Regions from separate parts of the Homo sapiens genome. Here region 2 is linked to region 1. Evidence: promoter capture Hi-C in human tissues and cell types (Jung and others, 2019). All regions are on one chromosome and are shown on one strand. Each heading gives the region's core, a stretch centred on a gene start or on the middle of the fragment in contact. The rest is flanking DNA. Distances are from core to core; before and after follow the strand shown.

What was found. The method cuts DNA at HindIII sites, captures the fragments that hold promoters and counts their contacts. A contact is called where the count stands out against the background at its distance.
Region 2: a contact is called between a fragment that was not itself captured here and the fragment with the promoter of CERCAM in region 1, in 1 of the 25 tissues and cell types used here (lymphoblastoid cells).

Annotation. Positions count from the first base shown.
Region 1 is chr9:128,419,523-128,425,823 of GRCh38, reverse strand. It overlaps CERCAM (cerebral endothelial cell adhesion molecule), which reads right to left and starts at 4,967. Exons shown (of 13, transcript NM_016174.5): 1 at 4,750-4,967; 2 at 2,846-2,956; 3 at 2,561-2,678; 4 at 1,552-1,686; 5 at 1,210-1,414. The coding sequence starts at 4,946. RefSeq lists an enhancer at 4,232-4,421 and a silencer at 4,682-5,581. The HindIII fragment of the contact is 34,497 bases long and covers 1-6,301 here.
Region 2 is chr9:129,042,489-129,049,005 of GRCh38, reverse strand. MIGA2 (mitoguardin 2) reads right to left here. Exons shown (of 16, transcript NM_001329990.2): 3 at 6,492-6,517; 4 at 467-579. Among named protein-coding and RNA genes, the nearest start is that of MIGA2, 9.1 kb to the right of the region's middle. The HindIII fragment of the contact is 4,265 bases long and covers 260-4,524 here.

The DNA of each region.
Region 1 (6,301 bases), core at 3,718-6,217:
AAAAAAAAGGCTGGGCTGGGCTCAGTGGCCCATGCCTGTAATCTCAGCACTTTGGGAGGCTGAGGCGGGCAGATCACCTGAGGTCAGGAGTTCGAGACGAGGCTGACCAACACGGAGAAACCCCGTCTCTACTAAAAACACAAAATTACCCAGGCGTGGCAGTGCATGCCTGTAATCCCAGCTACTCGGGAGGCTGAGGCAGGAGAACTGCTTGAACCCGGAAGGCAGAGGTTGCAGTGAGCCAAGATCACGCCATTGCACTCCAGCCTGGGCAACAAGAGCAAAACTCCATCTCAAAAAAAAAAAAAGGGCAGAAAAGAGATGAGGTCTTGCTATGTTGTCCAGGCTGGTCTCGAACTCCTGAGCTCAAGTGATTTCCCCTCCAGCCTCAGCTTCCCAAGACTTTGAGATTAGGGTCTGAGTCACCTTGCCTGGCCATACCCAAACTCTTTCTAGTAACTTTCATCTTGGCTGGGCGCGGTGGCTCACGCCTGTAATCCCAGCACTTTGGGAGGCCGAGGCGGGCAGATCACGAGGTCAGGAGATCGAGACCATCCTGGTTAACACGGTGAAACCCCATCTCTACTACAAATACAAAAATTAGCCGGGCGTGGTGGTGGGCGCCTGTAGTCCCAGCTACTCGGGAGGCTGAGGCAGGAGAATGGCTTGAACCCGGGAGGCGGAGCTTGCAGTGAGCCAAGATCGGCCACTGCACTCCAGCCTGGGCGACAGAGTGAGACTCTGTCCCAAAAACAACAACAACAACAACAACAAAAAACCTTTCATCTTAAAAGTAACCACTGGCTGGGCGGGTGGCTCACACCTGTAATGCCAGTACTTTGGGAGGCCGAGGCGGGTGGATCACCTGAGCTCAGGAGTTTTGAGACCAGCCTGACCAACATGGCAAAACCCCGTCTCTACTAAAAATACAAAAATTAGCTGGGTGTGGTGGCGGGTGCCTGTAATCCCAGCTACTCGGGAAGCTGAGGCAGGAAATCATTTGAACCCGGGAGGCAGAGTTTGCAGTGAGCCGAGATCACACCAAAAAAAAAAAAAAAGAGAGAGAAAAGAAAACTCATGACCCAAAGTTGTAACTCATGGGTTAACAGGATGAAATGCAGAGTAGGGAAGGGCATGGTAAGCAGCTGGAATAGCATGTGCAAATGTGCAGAGGCCTCCAAGGAATGCTAAAGGAGGGCTGGTCCTCACCAGCAGCCTGGCAGGCATAGGCGAAGACGATGATGTCGTCGAAAGGCCAAGTGTAGTTGGGATGTGGCGGGTAGAAAGCAAGCTGGTCTGCCCCTTCAGCCCGCAGGGATGCAAGGAAGGTGGAGTGGACCATGGGGACACGGAAGCAGCCCCGGCGCTGGCGGTTCTTGGTGGGGAAGTACTCGGCTGTGCGGCGGTAGTAGCCCTGGGGAAAAGGGATGCTTTGGGCTGTGAGAGGGCTCCCCTGCCCCTGCCCACAGACCCCAAGGCCTCAGGCTCTCTGCTCTCCACGTCCCTCCTTCCAGGACCTCAGTCCACCCAAGGCCCCCATCCCGGCCTCACCTGGGGGGTGATCCCACACCAGAAGTTGGAGTAGTAGGTCTGGGAGTCCAGCATTGGGGCCACCACTGGAAGCCCCTGCCCCATGAGAAGCCGCAGAGTCTGATTGTTGGTCAGAATGTTGTCTGTGTCTGCAAACTTTGAGGAGGGGACGTCACAGGCTCCAGCCCTGCCTGGGCTGCAGCCCCCCAAGGAGTTCACTGAGTGGTCCTGCCAGAGACCCAGCGTGGCTCCTAGGATCCAGTGGGAATGCTCTTACAGAGGTCTCACAAACTCAGTACATCTGTTTCTGGACCAAGGCTCTAGTCTGGGGCACTGACTCAGGGACTGGGTCCAGAGATTATACCTGAGTTACTGATCTAAGACCTTTATCTGGGATCTGGCTTAGAAAATGGATCCAAACACCTACTCTGAGCTCTAGTTCAGAGATCCAGGCTCAATTTATACCCTGGGCTCTAGCCCAGAAATCGAGGCTCAGTAAAGTGTATACAACGGGATCTATCTGAGGGGTCCAGGCTTAGTACCTAGTCTGAGCTTTTAACATAGGGATCCAATCTGAACATCTGGTCTGGGCTCTGGCCCAGATAGCCTGCCGAAGGATCCAGCCTTCGGGTGGGTCAGTCACATTCAGATTTCTTTTTCTTTTTTTTTTTTTTTTGAGACTGAGTTTCACTCTTGTCACCCAGGCTGGAATGCAGTGGCATGATTTCAGCTCAGTGCAACCTCTACCTCCCAGGTTCATGCCATTCTCATGCCTCAGCCTCCCAAGCAGCTGGAATTACAGGCGCCTGCGACCACGCCCAGCTAATTATTGTATTTTTAGTAGAGATGGGGTATCACCATGTTGGCCAGGCTGGTCTCGAACTTCTGACCTCAGGTGATCCACCTGCCTTGGCCTCCCAAAGTGCTAGGATTATAGGCGTGAGCCACTGCACCCAGCCTATACCCAGATTTCTATCAGGGACGGATACTACCGCCTTTCAGAAGCCCGATTCTAGCCAGACTTCCTCACCAGGATATAGTCGGCCCCCCAGTTCCTGGCAAAGGTGAGGGCTTCCTGCTTCAGCTCCATCAGAAACTGGTGCCTTTCTTTGGTCCAGTGCTTGGGACCCTCTTCATCTGGGTAGAACCTGAGGGGATAGAGGTGAGATGTTCCCATGGGGTACATGCCCCTCCCTCTCTGCAGGGCAGTGGACAGAGCCCTGGCTTGGAGGCTGTGGCTCTGGGCTGTCCCTTTTCCTCTCTGGGCTGCAGCTGTTCTCCATCTTCCCCAGCACCCTTCCCCTCAGATCACCACCTGGGCTCGCCCTCAGGCCTCCAGACCACAGCAGCATAGTCATCGCCCACAGCCGCCAGCCACTCCTGCAGCATCTCTGTGGTGTTGTCCACATTGTGGTCCGTGGCACACCTGGGGACGGGAAGAAAAAAGGCTGAGGGGGCACAGCCACAGGATTGAACCCCAAGGCAGCCTTGACCCCAAAGCACTAACACCTTTGAGGTCGAGCTCTCCTTGGAACAGTGAAGGGTAGGTGTGCTACAGCAGAGAGGCTGGAGGCAGCACAGCCAGGTCCCCACCACAGTTCTGTGACCTGCTGTGTGACCTCAGGCAAGTCCCATCTTTCTCTGGGCTTCACGTCCTCCCTCTATAACTTAAGCTGTCCTGCTTATGTCATGGACAAAGATAAGAGAAGAATAATGCATTTTTTTTGAGATGGAATCTTGCTCTGTCGCCCAGGCTGTAGTGCAGTGGTATGATCTCGACTCACTGCAACCTCCGCCTCCCGGGTTCAAGTGATTCTCCTGCCTCAGCCTCCTGAGTACCTGGGATTACAGGTGTGCACCACCATGCCCGGCTAATTTTTGTTTGTTTAGTAGAGATGGGGTTTCACCATGTTAGCCAGGCTGGTCTTGAACTCCTCACCTCAGGTGATCTGCCCACTTCGGCCTCCCAAAGTGCTGAAATTACAGGCGTGAGCCACCACACCTGGCCAACGAATGCATTTTGAAAGATGAAAAGTACCTCGACTTTAAGGATCACACCTGGTGCATTCCCTGGTTACCTTCGTTAGGTGGGCAGATACCTACCTATGTGACCTGTGGCTGTGTGACCACAGGCCAGCCCCTGTCCCTCTCTGAATGGGGACTAGACAGAAGAGCTGCTGCTTTCCTCCACCCCCAGGTTGTAATAAGGACCAAACCATGCTCTAAGCGTCCCTAAGAATGCAGATGGGTCCAAGCTCTGCTGTCATGGGGCACAGCCTCCCCTCTCCTGGGGAAGGGGCCCCCATAACAGAGGTGGGGGTTTAGCCAAGTGCCCAGGTTTTGGGTGATGCTGCCCCTTTAAGCCAATTCCCCAGAAATGAAGACTACGTGTCAAGTCTTACAGGGGTGGGAACTAACAAACTCCCAAACTGTGGTAATTGTGGGCGGCCTCCCCAGGCCAGGGCTCCACCCCCCCAGCCCAACTGTGGTGTGTTGAAGAGGGTGGCTTGTCATTTTTCTCAGTTTACCCCCAACCTCAGCCAGGGACTCCTCCCTGTTCTGGTGTCTACAGACCAGGGGTTGTGGCCTTCGATCCCAGTGCCCTGGGGGTACAGAGATGCCAGAGGGGAGAGGCTCCAGGAAGGGGGACTGCCCTTGGCTGACAGGATCCCGCCCCTCTACCAAGATCTACCAAGAGAGCTGGCCCCAGCACGGGGGCGGTGGGGGGGCCGGTCTGACTCCCCTGCACAGCCCGGAGCCCAGTGCTGATGGCACCCCCAACCTGTGCCCGGAAGCCTCCAGCGTGGTCGATCCCTGCCACGTTGGGCCCCAGTGGACTTCAGAGGTTCCTGTCTGCTCCTCTTCAAATCCAGCCAACCACAGGTCCCACTGGGGTTGAGCTGGGCCCTGAAGGCTGGGGTGAAAAGGGCTGGCTGGGCCCAACCTACACCCAGGGAAGGCCCCAAGAGGAAGGAGTAGGGGACCAGAAGGAGGGGTGGGTGTCCCGCGTCGGCCTGTGGCCTCAGAGGTCTGTCGTCTCCCAGCAGGGGGCTCGGGGTCCTCTCTGGCGGCTCGGGCTGGCAGGGCCGTCTGTGAGGGGAGGGGCCTGTCTAGGTGGTGTCTGGGCAGGGAGCGAGCAGACAGGGCCGCCGGGGGCGGGGGCCATCTGCGAAGCTGGGGGTTAGGTGCCCACTCGGTGCCAATGCCCGGGTCTCTCACCAGAGGGCCATCCTGGCCCGGGGGTAGTCCAGCCGCTCCAGAGCGCCCAGGTAGTGGGGCAGCGAGTGTTCGGCATTGCGGGCCAGGATGGCAAGGACCACGGCGGGCAGCGGCGACTCCGCAACGCCCGCAGCCTCCAGCCACGGCCCCAGCAGGAGCAGCAGCTGGAGCAGCGGCGCGGCGCGGGCAGCGCGCATGGCGGGCGCTTGGGCGGCTGCAGCGGCCCCCGGAGCTCTCGGGCCGGCCGAGGGGAGGGGGCGGGGCCTGGGGCCCGGGCGGGGCCGAGGCAGACCCGGAGAGGGCGGGGCAGTGCACCCTCAGAGTGGGATCCTGCTCCCCACCCCTGTGCGTGGATGCTCAAGTTTTCTCTCCTTGGCCCGGGGCACCGGAGGGCCAGGGCCCGGGGACCCGCGCCAGCCGCGACCCTGGAGCAGCCCCGCCCGGCTGGACCCCGGAGGGGCGACGGCGGAGGGGCCGGAGGACCGGACAGGGGAGGGGTGCTAGGACGAGTGCGTCGGGGCCGGCCGGGCGTCCGAGAACAGTAGGGGCTCATGGAACCCCTGGGCGTTGAACCCCCGGAATCCGGATTCCCCGGCCCACGCAGCCGACTCTTCGACCTGAGCCGCAGACCCAGAGGGGCGGCGCCCACTCGGCCACCACCTCCCGGGCTTCCCCGGCTCCCGCCCCATCCTCCGCCCCGGGCGCCCTCTGGCGGCCCTGGCGCTAGCTCCGCAGACCAGCCGGGCCACGCGTGGGCCGGAGACCCAGCGTGGGGGGCGCAGAGGGAGTCCCCCTGAGCTGGGCGCGTCCTCCCGCGGCGGTCCGCTCCTTAAGTCCCCTGTGCGTCACCTCCTTGCGTCGGTCGCCAGCACCCGCATTGCTTCGGCCCTTTAAGAGAGCACAGCCAGGCCGGGCGTGGTAGCTCACGCCTGTAATCCCGGCACTTTGGGAGACCGAGGCGGGAGGATCACCTGAGATCAGTTCAAGACCAGCCTGGCCAAGATGGTGAAATCCCATCTGTACTAAAAATACAAAAATTAGCCGGGCGTCGTGGCGGGTGCCTGTACTCCCAGCTACTTGGGAGGCTGAGGCAGGAGAATCGCTTGAACCCGGGAGGCGGAGGTTGCAGTGAGCCGAGATCGCGCCACTGCACTACAGCCTGGATGACAGACCGAGACTCCGTCTCAAAAAGAAAAAAAAAAAAAGAGCACAGCCCTCACAGCCCTCTCTTGGTCTGAGTGTAGAACTAGGGGACACCACGGAGCTGCTCACTGCGACCCGACCCGTCCGTCCTCCAAAGCAGGGGATGTTGGCTCCCCTGGAGCACCGCCGGGGTCCTTAGGACCCTGCTGGGAGGGAAAGAACTCTGCAGCCTCTCGGGAGAGGAGCAGAAAAGGGAGCGGCCTGGCGGCACCACAGATGGGATCGAACTGGGTGTCTGTCACCAACCTCAGACAGGTCCCTTTCCCTCAGGAGCCTCTCGGGTAAAATCGGGCTGATAACGCCACCCATCTGGGAGGGTTTGCAGGGATTCCTCGAGAGAATGAATGCA
Region 2 (6,517 bases), core at 1,143-3,642, 630 kb before region 1:
GAGTGGCTGGCAGCCCCAGGACAAGAACCAGCTCTTGCTTGCCCCTGTGCCAGCCTGGCTCATAGCTGGGACTCTGCTTGCTGGATGAGTGAATGAACCAAAAGCCACACCCCAGAAGAAGCCAAGCTTCTGCCTTGTTTATCTCTACACCTCCAGTGCCTGACAGAGTCCCTGGTATAACGCAGGTGCTTGTCAGTGGCTGATGAATGAATAACCTGCACTTTCACAGGTACAGGTCTCCCCAGGAGACCATCAGTTTCTCTCCTCTGCACCAGCCCACCTTTCTCCCACCAACACCTGGCACAGTGAGTGATTAGGGACAATCCCTGAAAGCCCGCGTGGGTGGAGGAGTGAGAGAGAGAATGAATGAATGGACTCTACCAGTCTATAAGCTTGCTGAGGGCAGAGTCCTCAGCAGGGGTAAGCCCGGACCTGGAGCCCTGGAGCCCTGGCACCTGCTGCTCACCGAGGCCACACTGTGGGAGGAGCCCGAGTGCTTGCTGGGCTCAATGGAAGAGATGCCACTCAGGGTGTCGTTGCTCTTGCTGCTGGGGCTCTGGACTCTCCGGCTGGAGTATCCTGTGAGGAGCAGAAGGGCAGGCGTCACACAGGCATCCCCTGTGGCCTTTACACGGGCTGCCCCCACTCTGGACCACCTTCCCCTTCTTCCTCATCTGGGAATCGGTCCCGACCTTCTAAGTCAGGGGAACAGAGGGGCCCCAAGGGCGTGCACTCAGGAGAAAAGCGCGGGGCCCTCCATGTCCTGCTCATGACCACATCCCTGCCATATCCCTGCCACAGGGCACAGGGCCAGGCCGAGGAGAGGAGTCCCGATCTGCCAGATAAGCCAAGAATGAGGTCCATCTGCTTTCCCGCCTCCTTGCTTAGCCTTCTCTGGGCTGCTGATTGAGAGAATGGTTTAGAATTCTCCTTGCAAAAGAGATGTGAGACGACAACTTTTAAAAATATACAAAAGGCCGGGCACGGTGGCTCACACCTATAATCCCAGCACTTTGGGAGGCCGAGATGGGGGAGGACTGCTTGAGCCCAGGAGTTCAAGACCAGCCTGGGCAACATGGCGAAACCCTGTCTCAACAAAAAATACAAAAATTAGCCAAGTGTGGTGGCGTGGCCTGCAGCCCCAGCTACTTGGGAGGCTGAGGGTGGGGGATCAATTGAGCCTGGGAGGTCAAGGCTGCAGTAAGCCATGATCGCAATACTTCATTCCAGACTGGGAAGCAGAGTGAGACCCTGTCTCAAATATATATACATATATATATATAAATTTTTTTAGGATGGGCTGGGTGGATCATGTCTGTAATCCTAGCACTTTGGGAGGCCGAGGTGGGTGGATCACTTGAGGTCAGGAGTTCGAGATCAGCCTGGCCAACAAGGTAAAACCCCATCTATAATAAAAATACACAAATTAGCCAGATGGGGTGGCGCACGCCTGTAATCCCAGCTACTCAGGAGGCTGAGGCAGGAGAATCGCTTGAACCTGGGACACGGAGGTTGCAGTGAGCCAAGACTGTGCCACTGCACTCCAGCCTGGGCAACAGAGCAAGAATGTCTCAAAAAAAAAAATTTAATGAAATGCACCAAAGGTTATTTTTTAAAATAGAGACAGGGCCGGGCACAGTGGCTCACACCTGTAATCCCAGCACTTTGGGAGGCTGAGGTCAGCAGATCACATGAGATTAGGAGTTCGAGAGAAGCCTGGCCCACGTGGTGAAAGCCTGTCTCTACTAAAAACACAAAAAATTAGCCAGGTATGGTGGCACCTGTTTGTAATCCCAGCTACTTGGTAGGCTGAGGAGGAGAATCCTTGAACCCGGGAGGCAGAGGTTGCAGTGAGCCAAGATTGCGCCATTCCACTCCAGCCTGGGCGACAGGGTGAGACTCTGTCTCAAAAATACAAAACAAAATAGCCTGGGCACAGTGGCTCATGCCTGTAATCCTAGTACTTTGGGAGGCCGAGGTGGGTGGATCACCTGAGGTCAGGGGTTCAAGACCAGCCTGGCCAACATGGAGAAACCCCGTCACTACTAAAAATACAAAAATTAGCCAGGTGTGGTGGCACACGCCTGTAATCCCAGCTACTTGGTAGGATGAGGCAGGAGAATCGCTTGATCCTGGGAGGTGGACGTTGCAATGAGCTGAAATTGTGCCACTGCATTCCAACCTGGGCAACAGAGTGAGACTGTCTCAAAAAAAAAAAGTAAATAAAAATTAAAAAATAATAATAAAATAAAACAAAGAAAGCCGGGTGTGGTGGCACGCACCTGTAATCCCAACTTTTGGGAGAACGAAGTGGGCAGATCACCTGATGTCAGGAGTTTGAGACCAGCCTGGTCAAAATGGTGAAACCCTGTCTCTAGTAAAAACATAAAATTAGCCAGGCATGGTAGCACTCCCAGCTACTCGGGAGGCTGAAGCATGAGAACTGCTTGAATCTGGAAGGCGGAGGTTGCAGTGAGCCAAGATTGTGCCACTGCCCTCTGCCCTAGGCGACAGGGCAAGACTCTGTCTCCAAAAAAAAAAAAAAACAGAGACAGGGCCTCCACATACCACCCAGGCTGGTCTCAAACTCCTGGGCTCAAGTGATCCACCTGCCCCAAAGTACTGGGATTACAGGTACAAGCCACTATACATGGCCAATATTTTGTTAGAAGTGAGAAAAGTAGGGAAGGGAAAATAAGGTGAAATGAGAGCAGGCAGAGTGGGACAGGGCACAGAAGCTAAACGCTGTGCAGATGACTCCAGGTTTCCCAGGACAGACACAAAATTAGGCTGCCTGAGTGTCTCTCAGGGTCCTCTTCCATATTAGTCTCAAGACTTCTTGTTCCAATTCTAGGCCGGGCGCAGTGGCTCACACCTGTAATCCCAGCAATTTGGGAGGCTGAGGCGGGCAAATCAGGAGGTCAAGAGATGGAGACCATCCTGGCCAATATGGTGAAACCCTGTCTCTACTAAAAACACAAAAAATTAGCTGGGCGTGGTGGCACGCACCTGTAGTCCCAGCTACTCAGGAGGCTGAGGCAGGAGAATTGCTTGAACCCGGGAGGCGGAGGTTGCAGTGAGCCAAGATGGCACCACTGCACTCCAGCCTGGCGACAGAGCAAGACTCCGTCTAAAAAAAAACCAAAAAAAAAAAAACAAAACACTTATTTTTCCAATTCTAAAGATAATACTTTCCTTTTGCAACAATAATACACAATTAAAATTTATTTTCACAGGAGACTTTTGCTTCTTATTTTTTTAACAGAGACAGCGACTCTCTATGTTGCCCAGGCTGGTCTTGAATTCCTGGCCTCAAACAATCCTCCTGCCTCCCAAATTGCTGGGATTACAGGTATGAGCCACCACACTCAGCTAATTTATGTTCTTTCTCTTTTTAAAAAAAAATTATTTATAGAGACAGGGTCTCTCTATGCTGCTCAGGCTGGTCTCAAACTCCTGGACTCAATAATTCTCCCGACTTGGCTTCCCAAAGTGCTGGGATTACAGGTGTGAGCCACCACACCCGGTCTACTTTTGCTTTTTTTTTTTTTTTTTTTTTTTTTTGAGACAGAGTCTTACTCCATAGCCCAGGCTGGAGTGCAGTGGTGTGATCTCGGCTCACTGCAACCTCTGCCTCCCGGGTTCAAGCGATCCTTCTGCTTCAGCCTCCTAAATAGCTGGGATTACAGGCATGCACCCCCATGCTTGGCTAATTTTTGTATTTTTAGTAGAGAGGGGGTTTCACCATGTTGGCCAGGCTGGTCTGGAACTGCTGTCCTCAGGTGACCCGCCCACCTCAGCCTCTCAAAGTGCTGAAATCACAGGCTACTTTTGCTTCGTTTTTTTTTTTTTTTTGAGATAGAGTCTCGCTCTGTCGCCCAGGTTGGAGTGCAGTGGCACAATCTCGGCTCACTGCAAGCTCCACCTCCATAGATGCCTGCCACCACACCCGACTAATTTTTGTATTTTTAGTAGAGACAGGGTTTCACCGTGTTGGCCAGGCTGGTCTCAAACTCCTGACCTCGGGATCCGCCTGCTTTAGCCTCCCAAAGTGCTGGGATTATAAGCATGAGCCACCGCGCCTGGCCTTACTTTTGCTTCTTAAAACAAGTTTCAGCTGGGCACGGCGGCTCACACCCATAACCCCAGCACTTTGGGGGGCCAAGGCGGGAAGATCTCTTGAGGCCAGGAGTTTGAGACCAGCCTGGCCAACACAGACCAGCCTGGCCAACACAGACCAGCCTGGCCAACATGGTGAAACCCCATCCCTACCAAAAATACAGAAATTAGCTGGGTGTGGTGGCTCATGCCTGTAATTCCAGCTACTCGGGAGGCTGAGGCAGGAGAATCGCTTAAACCCAGGGGGTGGAGGTTGCAGTGAGCCGAGACTGTGCCATTGCACTCCAGCCTGGGTGACAGAGTGAGACTGTGTTTCAAAAAAAACAAGTCTCCCAAGATGAGAACTCCTGGCCTTGCAAAGAGATCAAGACAACACTTCAATGCAGCAAACACCGGGTCTGTATTACAAGATTAACAGGAGCCGTAAGAGTTTTTACAACCACAGCAGCAGCCACAAAATAGAGCAGTGGCTACCAGAGCTGACACAGAAGGACACAGGGCATTTAGAGAGTGATACAACGATAGAACAGTTCTTTTTTTTTTTTAAGACTAGTTAAGTGTAGTAGTGAGAAGCTGGGAAAAAGAGTAGAAGAAGGGGCCAGGCACGGTGGCTCATGCCTGGCTCCCAGCACTTTGGGAGGCCAAGGCGGGTGGATCACGAGGTCAGGAGTTCGAGACCAGCCTGGCTAACATGGTGAAACCCCAACTCTACTCAAAATACAAAAATTAGCCGGGCGTGGTTTCATGCACCTGTAATCCCAGCTACTCGGGAGGCTCAGGCAGGAGAATTGCTTGAAACCGGAAGGCAGAGGCTACAGTGAGCAGAGACCAGACCACCGCACTCCAGCCTGGGAAACACAAGCGAAACTCTGTCTCAAAAAAAAAAAAGCCGGGCAGGTTGGCTCATGCCTGTAATCCCAGCACTTTGGGAGGCCGAGGCAGGCGGATCACGAGTTCAGGAGATCAAGGCCATCCTGGCTAATACAGTGAAACCCTGTCTCTACTAAAAATACAAAAAATTAGCCGGGCTTGGTGGCACGCACCTGTTGTCCCAGCTACTCCGGAGGCTGAGGCAGAAGAATCGCTTGAACCCGGGATGCAGAGGTTGCAGTGAGCCAAGATCATGCCACAGCACTCCAGCCCGGGTGACAGAGAGTGAGACTCCGTCTCAAAAAAAAAAAAGAGTAGAAAGATGGCCGGGGCCGGGTGCGGTGGCTCACACCTGTAATCCCAGGATTTTGGGAGGCTGAGGTGGGCGGATCACTTGAGCTCAGGAGTTCGAGAGCAGCCTGGCCAACGTGGCGAAATCCCGTCTCTACTAAAAATACAAAAATTAGCCAGGCATGGTGGCACGTGCCTGTAGTCCCAGCTTTTCGAGAGGCTGAAGCAGGAGAATCTCTTGAACCTAAGAGGCCGAGGCTGCAATGAACCGAGATTGTGCCACTGCCCTGCAGACTGGGTGACAGAGCAAGACTCCATCTCAAAAAAAAAAAAAAAAAAAAGAGAGAACAGAAGGAGTGTGATCTGTGACTGTGAGCAATCGACTGAGTGAACTCACTACCTTCCAACCAGCTGAATGATTCCTAACTATGGTGGTGGTCGGATGACTCTATGTGTCAAAGACACAGAATAGTATGCTAAAAAGTACGAATCTTACTGCATGCAAATTAACCCTCAAATTTTTTTTTTTTTTGAGACGGAGTCTCGCTCTGTCACCCAGGCTGGAGTGCAGTGGCGCAATCTCGGCTCACTGCAAGCTCCGCCTCCTGGGTTCACGCCATTCTCCTGCCTCAGCCTCCTGAGTAGCTGGGATTACAGGTGCCCGTCACCATGCCCGGCTAATTTTTTGTATTTTTAGTAGAGACGGGGTTTCACCGTGTTATTCAGGATGGCCTCGATCTCCTAACCTTGTGATCTGCCCGCCTCGGCTTCCCAAGGAGCTGGGATTACAGGCGTGAGCCACCGCGCCCGGCCTAAACCTCAATTTTTAAGAGAGAAGGGAATGGGAGGAATACTGCATCATTCAAGAACCACATGGCTCTTCCTGCTCCTCAGCCTGGGGAACATCCCTCTCTGGACCCAGGAGCCACATCCCCGACCCCCTCTGACCAAGGTGCTCCCAAAGGGTCCTCAGCTAATGAGAACAACCAAAACCACCTCCACCAATGGAGCATGCGCATCCAACCACATCACCCTCCAGTACAGTGACTGGAGGGAGGGACGCTACTGTCATCCCGCTCACAGATCAGGAGACCTTGGCTCTGAGACAGGAAGACACTGGCCCAATATCCCCAAGTAGAGAGTGACCCAGCTGGGATATGACCCCAGGATGTGACCTCAGGTCAGGCCTATGCCCACCACCTCACACCTACCTTTCTTCACTGAAGGGACCTTCCTG